2 separate regions of the Homo sapiens genome follow, and region 2 is linked to region 1. Evidence: promoter capture Hi-C in human tissues and cell types (Jung and others, 2019). All regions are on one chromosome and are shown on one strand. The core of a region is centred on a gene start or on the middle of the fragment in contact, and the rest is flanking DNA. Distances in the headings are between cores, read along the strand shown. Region 1 holds the start of PPFIA2 (PPFI scaffold protein A2). Region 2 has its middle 94 kb from the start of LINC02426.

The links. Contacts are between HindIII fragments. The study calls those that stand out against the background at their distance.
Region 2: a fragment that was not itself captured here is called in contact with the fragment with the promoter of PPFIA2 in region 1 in 2 of the 25 tissues and cell types used here (H1 embryonic stem cells and aorta).

Annotation. Positions count from the first base shown.
Region 1 is chr12:81,757,264-81,761,059 of GRCh38, reverse strand. PPFIA2 (PPFI scaffold protein A2) reads left to right here and starts at 1,710. Exons shown (of 33, transcript NM_003625.5): 1 at 1,710-1,780; 2 at 2,553-2,660. RefSeq lists an enhancer at 1,912-2,850. The HindIII fragment of the contact is 8,978 bases long and covers 1-2,717 here.
Region 2 is chr12:81,858,133-81,861,928 of GRCh38, reverse strand. No RefSeq gene overlaps it. Among named protein-coding and RNA genes, the nearest start is that of LINC02426, 94 kb to the left of the region's middle. The HindIII fragment of the contact is 3,559 bases long and covers 1-3,422 here.

The DNA.
Region 1 (3,796 bases), core at 461-2,960:
AACTGTATGTGGGGATTATACTTACAATTAAAACTTGTATTTGACATACGAATGGGACTCAAGGAAATCAAAACTCTTCTTGGAAACAGTAGGAACATCTGAGCCAGTAATTAACAAACGTTGATTGCCAAGGAAATTCAAACCAAGGTTTAATAAGGAAGGAATTCTTGTAAAAATAGACATAATAGCTATATGTAAAAATAAGAATATCTCTCATGTATAAGGAATTTTTATGTTTTGTGTAGAATTCTAGAGAGTGAAAGTTATGAGTACTGATATATGATTAGTATGTTGAAGCTATTACAATATGAAGTTTGTCTGAAAATAGACTAGGCTATCCTGTGAGGTGAAGAGTTTCCTGTAGTTAGGGGTATTTAAGCCACATCAAATTGTGGGTCGATTGGGTGGTCTAGACCCTTCCTCCTCAAGTGTAGTACCATCTGGGAGTCATTAGAAGGGTAGAATTTCAGGTTTCACCCCATTCCTGGTGAATCAGTATCTACAACTTAACAAGATCCATGGATGATCTGTATGCACATTATGTCTGAGAAATAGTGCTCCAGTTGACATCTAATGAATTTTCGTATTATTTTTATACTTCTTATAGGATTGTGTTGTGTTGTAAAATTTAAATAACAGTCTAGAATAGAAGTTGGGTAAATACATGAGCTTTACCCCACTTTCCATTGTAAAGTCGCTAACTGAATTAAATACTTCCCTCAGAAACAAAGATTGTTTCTTGGATATTGTAGTTAATTTTAAGTGAACAGTTATTTACATACTAGTTCTTTGTTAACTTTGGACTCTTGGCGTTACACAAAAGTAAAACACGTCTTTTGGCTTTCGTGTAGCACACTCAGAATATTTTCAGTAACCCCCAAAATATATTCAGTGTTTAATCCTCCAATTCCTTCATGCATGTCCTCTTCATTTTCACCAAACCCAGCAGGATTCGTGACTCTCCCTCACAGAAACGTTCCCTTTCTGCTCAGAGTAGGTACTGATTTTGTCTCCTGCTTCCTCAGTCTGTATGAATGGACAGCAGCAACGGAAAGAAAAGAGGGTAGGTAAAGGGAGGTGGAGATATAAGGGGGACTGGAGCGCGATGGAGAGACCAGACTCTGCTCAAAGCTAAAATTTACTCGGGCAGGGAATACTTAACATACAATTCCCATTACCAAAACAATATGAATGAAGAAGAACTGAAGAGGTAATGAGAAATGACAGATGCCGCCACACCCTAGATTGGCTCAGGTCCCTACAACCATGACTACCATGCCCTGGCCCAGTGGGAAGAAAGCTGCTTAAAGAAATGACAAGCACAGAAGACCGGGGAGCCAAAAGGTGCCCAAGTCCGTTCCCATCCCCACCAGCGCAGGCTGACACAAGCGAAGGCTGTAGAGCCCATTGTGTGAAAGAAGCCCAGGCGGGGAAGCGTGTGCCCCCTTCCCACTTTGCCCATCCCTGGCCCTCGCCTTCGCAGGGGGCACTGGGAGCAGAGCGAGCCTCGGCAGCCCGGGAGCGGCTCTGGGGGAGACGAGTGTATCCGCGGGCGCGTGTGCGTGAGGAGGAGAGCAAAGACGTGATTACTTCAGAATTTATTTAAGGGCCGGTGGAAACCACTGCAGCAGCTTCCAGGGGAAGCCCTTGTTCCAGAGGAAGAGGAGGTGGTGGCTGCCAAGGAGGAGGAGGGGAGGAGACGGAGGAGGAGGAGTAGCAGCCACCGCACGAGGCAAGTGAGGAGAGAAGATGCTGTAGCGTCCTCACCGGCTGCCAGCAGGTTGGTTCTTCCGGCCAATTGAAGCAAGCAAAGAGGCTTGCAGAAAGGCCGGGAGGAGAAAAATGGGTGTGTGTGCTGTGGCGGCGGGGGGGCGGCGGGGGGGAGGGAAGGGGGGCCGGGGGACGGCGTGGGGTGATGTTTGCCTTTCCAGAGAAAAAGCGCCTCCTTTAAGTGAAACGAGACACGGGAGCGCGCGGAAACAGGCTGGGGGCCAGGAGGAGACCTGTCCTGCTTTTTGCATCCCTAGGGACTCGTTTTCCTTTAGGTTTCTAACTCCCAGGGTTAGCCTTAAACTCCAGAGGGGCTCCAGGAGGGGAGACTGGGTGGAGAACTTCTCTCCCAGATACTTCTCACGCCTTTTCTCCAAGCTTTCTTTTGGAGGGACGCCCCACACACCCCGGGTGGCCCGGGCGCGGAGGGGGAGCGGCGCCGCGTGGTTAAGTTTCTGAAAGTCAAACCCAGTCCCCGGTCTCCGGTCTCCGCCCCGGGGCTCCAGCTGCACGCGGGGAGCTGCGGCTGTTCTGGCAAAGGGGCCGCGGCTGCTTTAAGAGCCGCCTCCCCCTCTCCTCCTTTGACAATGGTCTGAACCGAGCTTTGCTTCCCAAAGCAAAATTTGTAATATGCCATTTTTCCGATGGACGCTTCTCCTTTTGGCTGCTGACGGAGCCACGGGAAGATGCCGAGCTCCTGCCACGCCACCGGGCCGGGGCACGTTCCGGGAGGGCGCCGGGGCACGCGTGTGTCTGAGCTGCCTTTCTCCTCCCGTTGCTAGGGAAATGGTCCAGGAGTGCTGGGTGTGAGCCTCCCTTCTCCTCAAGCCGGAGACTGCGGTTGTCATTGATCAATTGAAGAAGCAAGGACCCGAAATCACAGACATTAGGTACAGAAGCTGTCTTTGAGTTTTACTGTCTCCTTTCGCTGTATTTTTTGACCACCTCCCCGGCCCCACCCCGCCCCCAGGGAAGATGAGATGCAAATTCCTCCTTGTTGATTACCGTTAGGTGCCTTTTGCTTTCACCTCATCCTCTCCATCTCCTATCTCTCTACCTCCTGCCTACTTGGCTGTGTCCTGTTGGGCAGGATGAACAATTTTAGTGTGGAAATGATGAAGTCAACTTCTTCAAGGTGGTGGGGGGTGTGGCTGAGAGATAACTGTCCAGTAGTGTGGGTTGAGCTGGCTCTGGCTGTCCGTAAATGCACTAGGGTAAAGAAAGTGTAAAATGTGTCCATTAAAGGTGATAATCATATTTCCCGAGGACAGAGGCTTTCAAAGAGTTAAATAGGAGGGAGAATATTCATGTAATGTAATCAGACAATGGCTAGGATTTCTCTCACTGAATTACTCCTTGTAGGTTAACTGAGGTGGAGCTGGGATGGTTCTTAAGACTAAATGTTTTCAGAAGAAACTCACTATGGATAATAATTACATTCTTACCTCTAGTAGGGCCGAATTCCTAGTGATATGATTAAATAAAGTCATTTGTTGACAGAAAAAAGAAAAAAAGCTTTTTGTAGCACTCTCATATCTGAAGAGGTACTGCTTGGATGGCATATATTGTTAAGGAACACATTGGATCTTGAAAGCCCTTGAGTGAGGACTCCAGTGGGCATTCAAACTTTTATTTTGAAATCTGAGAAATTTAAAAGACAGTCAAGGCTATGTGCTAAGAATAAAGGAGTTATTTTCCTGATATAAAATTCTTCCGGCTAAATTTAAGCACTGGGATAATTAAGCCAATCAGATTTATTATTACTTTTTTTCTTTCTCAACAAAATTAACAATGTCTCTGACTAGGTTTCAAAACCTTCAGTAATTTAATGAGGAAAGCATCAATATCTAGATGAAGATAACATAATTTATATATCAAATTGACTTTGAGGGGGGAATGATGAAAAAGCAAATATCAAGGCAAATTGTTAAAATGCCCTTTCTGGCTTTTCAGAAATTATGTGATGAATGCAGTTTTTAGTATTGATACTGATTATAAAAGTTAAAAGTGATGTATCTGGGTGAAA
Region 2 (3,796 bases), core at 394-2,893, 100 kb before region 1:
ATATATTGGGTATATTACTTAATTTTTGTAACCTTCACTTTTCTCAACTGAAAAATGGAGATAGTTAACTGTAAGTAGTTAATTAAATAAAGGAGATAATGTAAGTGACAACCTTAGCAAACACTGTATATTGCTGATGGTAAGCAATCAATAATTGTTATTATTAAACTTATATTTCTTTTATTTTTTTATTTTTTCATACAGTAGTAAGCTCAATAAAATTGAGTATATAATTTACTTCATACATCTATGTCCCTTGCAGCATTAACTCGTAACTGATGGAAGTAGAGCCAGAAAGGAGGCTTCAGGAAAAATACAAAATTTTCATCTCCACTTCTACATTGATCTGAATGAGTATGTATTCATTTTTAATAACCACTAGAAAAAGATAAAATATGTACTCATATCTTTCCTAAGGAATATTATAGTATATTGCATAATCAGCTTTTGGCCTAATATTATATTTAAGTTATTTAGGGTACTGGGGGTAAGGAGGAGGGAACAAAATGCCTATGATTTCCTTAATTGAATACCTTAGTTTTAAAAATATCTATACATCCTGAGTGCACATATATTGAAGGCAAAATACTCTACGTTTACTCCATAAGTGCCTTGAAGAACATAATAGTAATATCCAAAGCTTAAAATTTCAAAGGTAATTTCACCACAATATAGAGATATTTCTAAATACCATGTACAGATGGTGTCAGACTTACGATGGTTTGACTTACAATTTTCCACTTCACCATGGTACAAAGCGATAGGCATTCAATAGGCTCCTTGATTTAAGATGAGGTATGTCCAGATAAACCCACCCTAAATTGAAAATATTTTAAGGCAAAAATGCACTTTCAATATAGTATATTTTCAATGTAGGATGGGTTTATTGGACTGTCACCTCATCATAATTGAGGAACACCTGTAATTTGTAATTAAGCACTGACACCATGTAATATAAGTAATTATATACATCTTCTCTAGATTCGTATAATAACCATTTTTTTCTCTGCATTTATATGACTTAGCATATAAGGGGAAATGCTTACAAAATGCAGAGCACTTTAATCCATAAATTATTTGGGAAAAGGCTTGGTAAGAAATCAGAAAACTTTTTAAGTGAAGGTTTACCATGCATTGTTTACTGCAGGTAATCTCTCTCAGCATGAATTCATGGCAGTGGTTTACCTGTGTTTCTATTTACAGTGCTGTGTCCTTTAAAAGATTTTTAAGCCTCAGAATGAGTTTGTAAGTTGTATCATTAAATTTGTAAATTTCTTTTCTCAAACCAGATTATATATTCCCAAAGCATAAAGTTTCTTTTCACCTAACTTTAAATGAACATCAGTACCTGATACTCATGGCTGCTTGATTGGATTAAACTGAATTGCATGAAAGACTCCTAGAGTCTGATTTTAGCAGTCTTAGAGATTCTTATTCTAACTGTACTATTAATAAACTATGGGACACTGAACCAACTGCAAATGCCCTAAATCTGTGATTTTTCAGCTGTAAAGTAAGGATTATAACATGCTCTGCCTTGCTGACTTCAAAGTTCTATTTAGTGCAGTAATATAAGTGAAAGCATGTTGGTTGCCATAAATGCTTTGCTTCCTTTCTAGTCACGTATTCTCCACCTCAGGAGCTTTCATTACCAGCAGATACTAAATTATAGAGCTCAGATTTAAAATGCCAAACTTTGGTGGCAAAATAAATAGTCCCTTTCTCCCTACTTTTTTTCATTAAAAACAAAATAAATTTATTCCTACCAGTACTAAGTCATATCCATTTCTATAGGACCAGTTATCTAGTAAAATTTGGTAGAAAAAAGGTTACCAAGGACAGGAGAATGGCTATGTCCACTTGTGTTTTGAGTATAATTTATAGATCTGGATAATTTTGTTAATTTTATTAATCTTTAAATTGCATCGTGCTTTATCAGACCTGATCCCTTGCATGTAAACTGAATATTTACACCTTACCCTGAATTGGATTTACATCTCAATTTAGCTGTGTGTGTGTGTGTGTGTGTGTGTGTGTGTGTTTAACATAAGAAACCTCATAAGCCAACTACAATTTTTATTGATGTTTTTATCATGCTGTTTCCGGCAAGGAGTTCTTAATTATTTTTATTATAATACCTAACATGTATTTGACACTTCTACTAAACTCTCCACAATTATCCAGTGTGAGTGTACTGTTTCCTGATGGACCATGGCCAAGAGTATTAAGGAAGTAGCTTAAAGGCGAGATAAGCTAATGATTGCAAAGGATTTCCATTTCTTAAAGGAGTATGCTTTTATTCTGTCTGCAATAATAGGGCCACTAAAAGTTTTTAAACAGAATAATCCCATTTTCAAATTTTCATGCTTATCCTAATAGTAATACCCCTGAGCGTTGTGGCAGCTCACTACATCAAAAGATTCTGCAATTTCAGAACTGAGCTTAATCGGGTCCAGTGGTTTAATACAATAAAAAATGAAGAAACAACTAGCTTGCTTACAGGAGTTTATGGACTGCTGTCAACTTATATTTAATCCAGATGAGGCAAGATATATGGAAGAAAGCTTATCAATATTAATCTCCCTTCAAAAATACTTTAGACTCCTCACACAAGCATTCATGAACCTCTATTATTAGATTACTTTGACATAGCAGCCATTTCCATCCTTTCTTTGTCCTACTATCTCAAAAGTACTATCTGACATTCCTTTGGTATTTTTACCTTCATCAGATTTGCGATCGTGTCCTTGTTTCTGAGGAAAAGTCTCAAGAAGCTCTCAATTATCTCTTTTTATGCAATTTTTCTTCCTCTCTTTTATCAAAGGGGATCCTAAACTCAAGGTCATAAAGTTAGAAAGAGGAAAAGCAGAGGCTTAAAAATTGGTTACCTGTCTACTCCTTTCTTGCCAAAGGCATTGGTCCTACCATAATTTTTCCTGCCCTTTAGGACTTGCATCTCTCCTGCTTCTTATTTAGTGTTTTCAGATTTCTTTCTTTTTTTTAACTTTAAGTTCCAGGATACATGCGCAGAACATGCAGGTTTGTTACATGGGTATACATGTGTCACGGTGGTTTGCTGCACCTATTGACCCATCCCCTAAGTTGCCTCCCCTTGGGCCCCACCCCCCCAACAGGCCCTGGTGTGTGTTGTTCCCCTCCCTGTGTCCATCTGTTGTCATTGTTCAACTGCCACTTATGAGTGAGAACATGCAGTGTTTGGTTTTCTGTTCCTGTGTTAGTTTGCTTAGGTTGATGGCTTCTAGCTTCATCCATGTGCCTGCAAAGGACATGAGCTCATTCCTTTTTATGGCCACATAGTATTCCATTGGTGTATATGTACCACATTTTCTTTATCCAGTCTATCATTGATGGGCATCTGGGTTGATTCCATGTCTTTGCTATTGTGAGTAGTGCTGCAATGAACATATGTGTGCACGTATCTTTATAATAGAATGATTTGTATTCCTTTGGGTATATACCCAGTAATGGGATTGCTGGGTCAAATGGTATTTCTGGTTCTAAATCTTTGAGGAATCGCCACAGGAAGACCCTGAAATGACTGATCACTGAAGGCTATGTACTGACCTCACACCTCGGAGTTGGTGTAACAAGTCAAATTCTCATTGAAGTGAGACTGGTACTTCTCAGCGTCCATCATAGAGGTAAAAGATAAAGTCACTGAAGTTAGAGATTGTCCTTGGAATCATGACATAAGAAGCTGAATCCGTTGTTTGTCAATTGCCAAGATAATTTCAGATAGAAAAAGTGAAGACAACATTTGGGAGGATACATTTAA